Regions from separate parts of the Homo sapiens genome. Here region 2 is linked to region 1. Evidence: promoter capture Hi-C in 16 types of primary human blood cells and fetal thymus (Javierre and others, 2016). All regions are on one chromosome and are shown on one strand. The core of a region is centred on a gene start or on the middle of the fragment in contact, and the rest is flanking DNA. Distances in the headings are between cores, read along the strand shown.

The links. Contacts are between HindIII fragments. The CHiCAGO score rates a contact against its expected background, and 5 or more counts as called.
Region 2: the fragment with the promoter of YPEL5 here is called in contact with the fragment with the promoter of FAM98A in region 1 in 1 of 17 cell types (naive CD4 T cells); the score reaches 5.2 in naive CD4 T cells.

The regions. Positions count from the first base shown.
Region 1 is chr2:33,595,745-33,601,217 of GRCh38, forward strand. FAM98A (family with sequence similarity 98 member A) reads right to left here and starts at 3,555. Exons shown (of 8, transcript NM_015475.5): 1 at 3,425-3,555. The coding sequence starts at 3,477. It overlaps LOC105374455 (a long non-coding RNA gene), which reads left to right and starts at 3,601. Exons shown (of 3, transcript XR_939942.3): 1 at 3,601-5,094. RefSeq lists enhancers at 2,809-2,998, 3,549-3,618, 3,649-3,698, 3,839-4,068. The HindIII fragment of the contact is 3,614 bases long and covers 2,006-5,473 here.
Region 2 is chr2:30,142,642-30,148,554 of GRCh38, forward strand. It overlaps YPEL5 (yippee like 5), which reads left to right and starts at 4,366. Exons shown (of 3, transcript NM_016061.3): 1 at 4,366-4,421. RefSeq lists silencers at 3,970-4,549, 4,580-4,749, 5,040-5,479. The HindIII fragment of the contact is 10,963 bases long and covers 1-5,913 here.

The DNA.
Region 1 (5,473 bases), core at 2,305-4,804:
AAGTTAGTACTTATCTTTATTTTAAATGGACAAATATAAACATAATTTAGAACTATACTGAACCATTACAAAAAGCAGCTAAATGGTAGCTGCATTTCAACCTTTCAAAATGTAGGTGAATATCTAACAGAATTGCATATACTACTAAATTATGTCAACTTCTGTACATTTACTAAAAGCTTCCATTGTAAAAAGATTTATTTTCTTACTGTAATTGAATTGAGTATTAAAAGCAAATTAACAAGTAATAGCTAATTATACTGTAACTTATTTCAGAAATAAAACTTAGGTTATCTTTTCTAAAAATTTTCCAGAAAACAACTAGATTATGTTTTTATTTTGAGATGAGGTCTTGCACTGTCACATAGGCTGAAGTGCAGTGAAGGCACAAGCCACCAAACCTGGCTTTTTTTTTATTTTTTATAAAATAGCCAGGGGTCTTACTATGTTGCCCAGGCTTAGTTAGGTTTTTAATGACTTCCTTTAAAAGTAAAAACTTTCCAGTTAACCATTTATATCATTTTTATAAATTTAATGCCAGTTAAGACTAGTAAGACATTCTAGTACCAAAGAAACGTCAGGTTAGGTTAATAAATATTGGCAGTTAATGAACTGGCGCATCTGAATCCTAATCCTTTGTAAGTGATTCCAATATAATTTTAAAAAATTTAAAAATGTTCAAACATTCATAAAAGATGACAGTCATAATGAACTCCAATCACCAATATTCTAAAATATAAGATTTCTGTCACTCCAAGTAATCTTAAATACATATTATTCAGATTGCTTTACATTCTCTTAAATATTGATAATAATGCTTACTTAAGATGATACAATAAATATGCTTAAGATAATATAATGTTTAGGCCAGGCGTGGTGGCTCACGCCTGTAATCCCAGCACTTTGGGAGGCCGAGGCAGGTGGATCACGAGGTCAGGAGACCAAGACGATCCTGGCTAACACGATGAAACCCCATCTCTAATAAAAATACAAAAAAATTAACCAGGCATGGTGGAGGGCGCCTGTAGTCTCAGCTACTCAGGAGGCTGAGGCAGGAGAATGGCTTGAATCCAGGAGGCAGAGCTTGCAGTTAGCCGAGATCGCACTACTGCACTCCAGCCTGGGCGACAGAGCAAGACTCCGTATCAAAAAAAAAAAAAAAAAAAGATAATATAATGTTGAGAACTACAGGTATGTTAGAGAAATGACAGTTCTCAAACCCTTTAAAATATGATTATAGGTTTATACAGTATATGCAACAAAATGAAAACAAATCATACATAAAAAAATGAGATCACATGTAGTCTGGCATCTAGATTTATAAACTATGTATTATTAGACACTGAAATCAAAAGACTAGGCCTAGAAGTTTCTCCTTGAGTTTCACATTTAGACTTCATTAGTTTATTCAACAAGTAGTTACTGAATTCCTACTGTGTGCCAGGTAAGAGATAAAAGATGACTATTTGCCAGGATCAGTGGCATACACCTGTAGTCCCAGCTACTCCGGAGCCTGAAGTGGGAGGATCGCTTGAGGCTAGGAGTTCGAGACCAGCCTGGTCACCAGAGCAAGACCTCATCTCTTAATAAATAAATAAATAGAAAAGGTAGTCATTTAATTCTAATATTTCTCAGTTAATCCTTTAAAAGTACATTTCAGTTAATTAAGGCTGACTTTTAATATTTGAATGCCACCAAACTAAGTAGTTAAGGTTAAAATTTATAACAGTTTTCAGAAAATCCATGGTTTACATTACACTCTATGTCAAGTAGTTATGTGATTACAATTACTACAGTAACAATTACTTGTACAGTACCCAAAAGAATAAAAAGTTAAAAAAAGGAGGGGGAAAAAAAAAGACAATAATGGGAAGAAACAGCATCCGTGGCCAATTCTTAAGTGACCACTATCCATGCAGAAAGACTACATTTAATAAGGTCTACCCCCTTCCTTTCATTCCACTCATTCCACTACAGTACTATAGTGTCATTTATTCCAGAAAGAAGCTTCTAGGATTTCATTTCCTTTCCCAGTAAAGGGACCCTCCTCAGGGCTCCTCACAGCATATTTTCCCAGTATCCTGTGAACCCCTCTTCCACCTCACCTTGTACTCTAAGGGCCTAACACTGCCACAAAGAAACTGTTCCTAAAAAAGTCCTAATGAATGAATGGTTTCATGTGTGAACAAGCGATTCAGTCTGAGATGTCAACTAAAGAGACTATTTTGCTGAATGACTTTAACATATGCCCTAATGAAAGAAAGAAGCCCCCTAAAGTCTGGAATATTTATAAAAATTCAGAGCAAGTTTCCAAGAAAAGAACAATAGTATTTCACTGTGACAAAGACAGATGATAAGCAAGACTACTTCGTTCCTAAAAATTTCTACTAGGGTAGTAAATTATTCAAATAGGCAGACTTTGGGAATCCTCAAGGTGTTTTTTCCTAAAGAAAGGTTTCTCTCAAAGGTTTCCTTGTCATGGAAAAACCTAAGAGAAAATTTTGATAAAGAACTTGTTACTTAGAAATACAGCTAGCTAAATCTGTACTTTGTTTTGATACCGTACCTGTAGGTAAGTATCTAACCATACAATTTGTTTCTGGAACCACATTTAGCCCAAGAGGGTCCACGTTCTCAAGTTTAATAGAGTACACTGATCTGGGTGACCCAGTGAGATAACAAACCCTATTTCCAGCTTCTAGATACTGATGAATTATGGTTGAATAAATATCAGGAGAAGGAGAGACACAATGCAAAACAAATACGCAGGTTCTTCGTGGGTGAAGACGACCCTGGTCTAATGGGGCTCAACGAGGCAGAGTATCACAGAGTCAAAGCAAACTGCTGGTGGTTCCCAGGGACGTGGTGATAGGTTAGATGCACAAGCGAGCTGGCCAGCGGAACAGATGCAGCGCCCATACAAGTGGCTTAGCGAAGCCTGGGTGCATGCAGAGATGACTGGGCAAAGGAGAAATTTTGAGAGAAGTGGGGTGGGGTAGGAGGAGGGGCTCAAGATGGGAGTAGGAAATTTGGAGAACAAGTAGGAAAGCAGAATCAACTTTGGCAACCTTTAGAGTTGAGGGGTTAAGGGGTAGGGCAGGAGGATGAAGCGAGGAGAGAAGCTCGGGGAGTGGGGGTGGCGAAAATCAGAGCCCAGACAATGACACGCATGACTGACAAACGCTGCGGGTAGCTCGCCTGCAGGGAGCACTGGGCAGGCCTAGGGGTGTTGGGATTGGAGGACCCCGAGCTAGCAGTGCAGACAGTGGACGTGGCATTGGGGGTGCCGGGGCCAAAGGGAAGCGACAGCCAGGAGCCACGGGGTGCGGCGTGGAGAGGCAGGTGTCTCAGACTGGGGCGCAGGAGGTGTTCCCAGGGGGCCGGCAGCGTGGGGCTTGGGAGACCCGTGCCCTGACAATCTTACCCTAGATCTTCCAACGACTCCAAGATGTCAGTCTCCATGAGGTCACACTCCATGCTACTGTGGTATTCAAATTTCCGAGTCGTCAGGCTCCCCTCTTCGCCGGCAACGCGTACACTCGCGCATGCGCGACTTCCCCGGAACTTCCAAATCCACAGCTGGCGCCTCAGCTCCCGCACTGCGCATGTCCGGAGCGTGCGCAAGAAACTTGGTCCCACTGACCGCCCCACCCCTGCCCACTAAAGAATTACAGGGCCCGCAGTTTTGCACATGCGCGTTACTGGATCGTGAAGCTAGCCGCCCAGAGAAGGGTAGGAGGACCGGCTGCGTGGCAGCTGGGCGTGGGGACCACGCGAAGGGGAGCGCTCTCGGCTCTCGTTATTGGGTGTACGCATGTGCGAATGTAGGGGGCGCGGCGGGCCGGGAAGGAGCTTGGAAGAGTCTCGGGACGCGGGTGGAGTCGGCTGTTAAACCGAGTCTCTGCATCCCAGACAGGAGATCGGGTGGCTCTTCGTAGGGTGCCGGCATGTGCTAGCCTTAGCTTGCAGGTCATGTAGAAAGGGAGAATTCTTGCGCTCCCGTCTTCAGGACGCGGGTGCGGGCCAAGTGCAGACGGCAGATAGCGTGCCATTTGATTTCCTCGTGGCTGCAGTAGCTTTATTTCAGGGTTAGGGATGAGCCAACTTTCCGCAGACTATGGATGTTCAGAAAGTTGGGTCGTTTTCCCTCATGCATTCTCTACCTGATGTCTAAAGCCCTTCCCAGACACTAAGCATGTTATTTTAAGGAGAAGGGGAGCTTCACTCCATAGCAAATAGAATAGAATATTTTTAAATCCACGTAGTTTAGACAGTGAATAAACTTTTTGGCTGTACTGTCATTACTTTTGACATTATTTGCCCGGGTGAAACATTGAGTTCACGATGTGGATGTGTTGTGATATCTTGGCAGTTACTGAGGGTGTGTTTAGAAATTACTGAAAAATCAGAAATGTTTTCAAAGTGATGGCATATTTAGAAAACTATATTTAACCATAAGTTGGCGTACTGTTAAATCGTGTAGGCATTTAATTAAAGAGTTTTCATATTGATACCTGTTGATTTTATTCTATAGTTCTCAAGCATTTTTGTGTCTGATGGATAGATGTTCCTATCCTTAGTAGTACCTTTTTCTTTTCTTTCTTTTTTTTTTTTTTTTTTTATGAGACGGAGTCTTGCTCTGTCGCTCAGGCTGGAGTGCAGTGGTGCGATCTCGGCTCACTGCAAGCTCCGCCTCCCGGGTTCACGCCATTATTCTGCCTCAGCCTCCCAAGTAGCTGGGACCACAGGCGTTCACCACCACACCCAGCTAATTTTTTGTATTTTTAGTAGAGACGGGGTTTCACCATGTTAGCCAGGATGGTCTCGATCTCCTGACCTTGTGGTCCGCCCACCTTGGCCTCCCAAAGTGCTGGGATTACAGGCGTGAGCCACCGCGCCCGGCCAGTAGTACCTTTTTCAGTTTCCTTATTTTGCATCATCTGAAGTGGGGGTAGGTTTTCTGCACTTACCATGGGCACTTGATATGGCCCATTATGATGCAGTCACCATAAGGCTGTGTGAATATTAGTCACATTCTACAGATGAGGACACTAAGGCTGAGTGGCTTAATAATCTTCAGCGATCTTAATGCCTGTAAGTATGAAACTAGATTTTGAGATTGAGGTATATCTAAATCCATATTCCTTCTTTTTTGACTAGTCAAATAAGGATTTATACGCAGGATGTGAAAAGAGGAAAATTTAGCTAGTTGAATTTGTTTAAACTTGTATATATTGTACATAATTACCTTATAATAATTGAATAATTATTTTCCTCATAGGGTTGTTGAAGGTGCTAAACAAAAAGTCATGCCTAATACAAAAATCAATTTTGAAAGAAAAAGGGTTTCATTCTTGACTCACTTTTGATGTAAGCTGTGTTCAATATTGAACTAATATTGAATATAATATTGTGTTCAATATTAGTGAATGAACGAGTGATGACTTCCCTAAAAGTATTAGTATTCCCTTTC
Region 2 (5,913 bases), core at 3,116-5,615, 3.5 Mb before region 1:
CAAATGTCAAAGGAGTTTTTATCCCAGAAACACAAAGCTAGTTTAATATTGGAGATGGGCTAATGTAATACATATAAAAAAACAGAATAAAGGGAAAAAAATGGTCATCTCAATGGACACTAAAAGATATTTAATAAAACTGCATGCCCATTCTTTAGAAAAAGGAACATTACAAACTAGTAATAACTTTTATGAATTTGTCTGATAGAAATATTCACAGATATACTCAAAGATATATGAGCAAGGATTTAAAAAGAAATAAAAGGCCAGGAGTGGTGGCTCATGCCTGTAATCCCAGCACTTTGTGAGGCCGAGGCATGTGGATCACGAGGTCAGGAGATCGAGACCATCCTGGCCAACATGGTGAAACCCCATCTCTACTAAAAATACAAAAATTAGCCGGGCATGGTGGCATGTGCCTGTAGTCCCAGCTACTCAGGAGGCTGAGGCAGAAGAATCGCTTGAACCCAGGAGATGGAGGTTGCAGTGAGCCGAGATCACACCACTGCACTCCAGCCTGGGTGACAGAGCGAGACTCTTGTCTCAAAAAAAAAAAAAAAAAAGAAAAGAAAAAAAAACAAAAGGCAAAATGACTAGAAAGTGGGCAGCAAAACTGTGATCATTTGCAGATAAAAACATTTTTCCATCCAGAAAATCCAGGAAAATAAACTACAAAATCATCATATTTCCTACAAAACAAATAACTGGTTAGAGATGTAATATATAATACGGGAAGTTCCCATTCACAGTAGCTACCTGTATTAGTTTGCTAGGGCTGCCACCACAAAACACCACAGATTGGGTGGCTTAAACAGAAATGTGTTTTCTCACAATTCTGGAGGCTGGAAGTCTAAGATCAAGGTGTTGGCTTTCTTGTGAGTTTGGTTTCTTCTGAGGCCCTTTTCCTTGCCTTGCAGATGGTATCTTCTCACTACATCCTCAAAAGGTCTTTTCTCTGTGTGCAGGCATCCCTGGTTTCTCCATGTGGCCTAATCTCCTCTTCTCATAAAGACACCAGTCAGATTGGATTAGGGCCCACCCTAATGACCTCATTTTAACTTAATCACCTTTTAAAGTTTCTACCTCCAAATACAGTCACATTTTGAGGTACTGGGGATTAGGATTCAACGCATGAATTTCGGTGGGGGGAAACACAATTTAGCCCGTAGCATTCCCAGAATATATACAATACCTAAATACAATCCTAAAATGTTATGTAAAAAACATACAGGAAGGCAGCTACACCATAAAATTTTACTGAAAGACATAAATGAACATTTGGATAAATGGAAAAAAATGTACCATGTTCTTGGTGGGAAAGTCTTAGTATTATAAAGTTTCAATAAAGTATCAACTTATTCCAATTACCTTACTGGTATAACACAATTCTAACCAAAAGCCCAGCAAGATTTTCTTCAAACTTCTCACCCTTTCTTTTTCATTTCTCTTCCATATTTCTCATATCACCTTTAATTGTACACTTTATTTCTGAGTGTCCCACCATCAGCTCAGACTCAGCCTCTTTCACCCCAAATCAACCTTCTCAACCACACTATATCTGGCAATGGGAAACCATCACACTATCAGTCACCCAGGATAAAACCTCTGACTTTAAAAATTCTGTCCTTAACCCAGGTAGAAAGTCAGTCCTGTGTAGCCCTTCCTGTTAAAGTTAAAACTGCAAACCTTAGCTCCATTCCTGCCTGCCTTCCTTACTTCTGCACATCATCATCATCTAGATTAATCTTTCTAAAATATGATTTTTATTGTTATTTTTCAAGTTCACAAATACTGTAGTCGATAACTCTACTGGGTGACCTTGGACAAGTTAGTTAATCACTGTACCTCAGTTTTGTCATCTATTAAATGGGGATAACAGTACTTACCTCACAGAGTTGTTATGAAAATTAAAAGTTAATAATTTTAAGGCACTTACAACAGGAAGAATTTTATATATATTGTTATATAAATAAACATTGTCCCCACTGTTTTATCTGGTACTTAAAGTGTTCATTTCTGTGGGTTTAAGCATTGTACTCTCTTTTCAAATGATTATATTCAGAAATACTTGAATGTTTTATCCATGTACACAGGTGTCGATTACAGCATTATTTTTAATACAAAAGACTGAAGACAATCTGAATGTCTATCAGTAGAAAAATGTTTAGAAACATTTAGAAAAGATGGTGAAAGCTGGACACATTGGCTCACACCCGTAATCCCAGCACTTTGGGAGGCCAGGGTGGGCAGATCACCTGAGGTCAGGAGTTTGAGACCAGCCTGGCCAATATGGTGAAACCCTATCTCTACTAAAAATACAAAAATTAGCCGGGCGTGGTGGTGGGCACCTGTAGTCCCAGCTACTGGGGAGGCTGAGGCAGGAGAATTCCTTGAACCTGGGAGGTGGAGGTTGCAGTGAGCCAAGATCACAACACTGCACTCCAGCCTGGGGCACAGAGCAAGACTCCACCTCAAAAAAAAAAGATGGTGAAGTCATACTACGGAAAACTATGGAGACAAAGGTAAATTTGTAGATAAAAGACACATCTGACATGAAAGGATGGCTATAGCACATTGTTGAGTGAAAAAAAAAAGCAGGTTGAAAAACAGGAAGTACAATATGCTTCTATGTATAATACATTCAATTTGGGAAGAATAGGATACATATGAAGCTGTTAGAAGACAGAAGTCTCTTATCAAATGAGGCAGTATGATCTTCCTACAATAAACGTGTAACTTTTATATTAAATATTGTTAATTGAAAATAAAGAAATAGAAAGGAAAATAAACTAAAATACTGTATGTTTAAAACTTCTGGCCAGGCACAGTGGCTCATGCCTGTAATCCCAGCACTTCAGGAGGCCGAGGCGGGCGGATCACGAGGTCAGGAGTTCGAGACCAACCTGGCCAATATGGTGAAACCCCGTCTCTACTAAAAATACAAAAATTAGCCGGGCGTGGTGGTGTGCGCCTGTAATTCCAGCTACTCAGGAGGCAGAGGCAGGAGAATTGCTTGAACCCGGGAGGCGGAGGTTGCAGTGAGCCAAGATCATGCCACTGCACTCGAGCCTGGGCGACAGAGCAAGACTCCGTCTGAAACAAACAAACAAAAAAACTTATCTCCTGGAAAACTCACTTATTAAAAGATAACTAGTCCTTTTGCCTTTGATGCTCAGGTAAACTTCAGACGAACTAAATGAAAATACTTGTGGATTTGGGGATGAGCGGGAGTCAAGTGCTAGAATTTGCTTAGCAGCTTCTCTTCCACCAATAATGACTTTAAACATGTTGCAAACTAGCCCCAAATGCTAACCTACATTTTTAATCTGAGAGGTATGCGTCATCAAATATTTTGGTTTTATCCCGAAAGTCAGCTAACAGAGATGTAAGTACCTGGGCAACTCTAATGGAATGAGAAGCAACATCTTCCATCTTAAGCATTGATAAGGGTTAAGGGAACAGCTGCTCTTTGCAATGAACAAATCTCACTCTCTGAGGCAGAAATTCGCCATATAGAAGACTGAATTTCTTCATCTTTTTGAGAATCATTTCCACTACCCAGAAAAAACATTCAAATGAGTTGTAAATAAAGTCAAGCGCAGTTGAAAAATCCTGTATCCACAGATGTTTCTTAGGAGTGCCTATGCGCTTAGACTCGAGGGCTAGGGGTTTGAAAGCAAAAGGCAGCCCTCTACCAGGGGTGGTCGGGGAAACGGCCTCCAAGAAACGAATTACACGGTGCACTTTAGTTACCTAGGCAGCTGTTTGTCTAGGAAACAGCTTATTGTTTTCATTTGTCATCACCGCGGCTCACTAGGTATCAGGAAGCTCGGCTCCAGCCGCTACCTGGTGACGCTAATGACGTGCGATGTCTCGCAGCTGCCGCAATTAGACAGGCCAAGCCTTCGCCTTTAAGAAGCTGACTCACGTGGATGCTGTGTTGTGTGCGCTCAGCTGAAAGGGGGAGGTGGGTCCCCAGACTGACTACATTGGCCGCCTCGAGAGAAGGGGCAGAGTTAGCCTCTTTGATTGGCTGTACGAGTCCGAGGTGCTGGGTCAGGGGCGGGGCGAGCTGTCGCAAGCCTGCCCTGGGTCTGCGGCTTCTGAGAGGGGTGGGCCGCGAAGCGGAGGGGTGCGGGAGTGGGGGAGGGTGAGCCAGAGAAGGGGCGGGGCCCCGCGAAAAAGGCAGGAGGCCGAGGACAGGGGCGGGGCCTAGAAATAAAGGGCGTTCTGGGCCAACCGGGAGAGCTGACTGCGGGGGGGCGGAGCCACGCCGGGTGACTGACGTTGAGGCCCAACCAGGGAGAGGCGGGGCCAAGGCCAGGGCCTGACTAAACCTGGAGACTCGGGTGGCCGAGGGGCTTCATACCAGCTGAAGAGCGACAAGCCGCTGGCAGCCGCGGATCTCACCGCCGCTCAGGGTGAGTCCCGCGGGAGGGGCTGGACTCGGGGCCGGTGGGGACTGAGGCGCCCGTTCGGGTCGGGCGGCTTCGAGGCACTCGGGAATCGGCCCAGGGTGGGGGGCCCAGGCAGGAAGTGCCTCTTCCTCGCCGCGCTCTTCCCGGGGTCCCAGAGCGGCCGCCCCAGATCCTTCAGGGTGGGCCCCGGCGCTGGGACCGCGGGCGGACGCGCGGGGCTGTTTGCTCTTTGTGAGGCCTGGCGCGGCGGCCGCCGTCGGCCCGCCCCCGCCGCGCAGCCGGGCGACCGGTGCGACAACAGCCGCAACCCCTCCGCGCGGCGCCCGCGCCTCCGCCCCGTTTCCCCGTCGCGTCCTCCGAGGCCCGCCGCCGAGGCCCACGGCGCCCCCTGGGCGGACGGTCTGGCCGCGACCCCCAACCCGCCGCGCCGCGCCGCGGCTGCCCCGCCCCCACCCGTCGCATAGTCGGGGGCGCGCCCGGTCTCCGCCCCGAATCCAAGTCGGAACTTGACCGAGTTGTTTGGGCCGCGATGACCGCACGGCGTGAACCGTCCTGAGCAGGGCCCACGCCCGGCCCAAGCGGCCCAGCCACCGGGCTGGGGCGGTGTCTCCCTTTGCCCCCTCCCCCCCATGAACGTCCGCCTCCCCCGCCCTCCTGCCCAGAGGACCCGGGACTGACAGCGCAGGGTGACGGTTGGGCAGCCCGCCGGGTGTCGGGACCAAGAGAGCCCCCCGGCCACCCGCTCAGCTGTTTCCTGCTCGTGTTTGTTGTGCCGAGGGAGGCCCCGCCGCCACCGCCGCCGCCGCGCTCTGCCGCCCCGGTCCCTCCCGATTGGCCGGCTGGCGTCACGTGGCCTCCATCAGCTGGGCCGGCGGGGGCGCTCGCGGGCCCCACTGCGGCTGCCGGGTGAGCCCACCCGGGGGTCGCCCGGGCCGGCCCAGCTCCGCCAGCTTCGGGCTGCGGCCTTCCCTCCGCTTGCAGTCGGGAGGGTGGGCGTGCCCTTGCAACCCCTTTCCTGTACCTTCTCTGCAGGTAGATGGGACAAATGAGTGTCCGGATCAGCGGGAGTGGGAAATTGAAATACTACAAAGATCTGTTTAATCCTGATACCAACTAATCTCCCTTTCAAGGGAGAGTCTGGGAAGCTGTACAGCTCATTTATTTTTAAACTTTTTCTGTTTACAGAGATCTGTTGGTAATCTGAGGATTTTTATTCTACGTCGTCTTGACAGATGGAAAACCTGAAGTAACTTCGGGCTAACCTTGTGTTTTTGGAAAATTAGTAGACTTGGTGGTGAAGAAACTGGGAGGAGTAGGATATTAGCTAACTTTGCATAGCCACATATAGAGCGTCGCAGCTGCATTCCACCAAAGAGGAACCAAAAGGCCTGTGGTGTTCCCAGGGTACATATTCATGCCAGAAGTGAAGTGCTTTGGTGAATTCGTTTCCTGAAAGTTTATCGCATACTTGTACTGGGTTAGGTAAGAAGTAAAG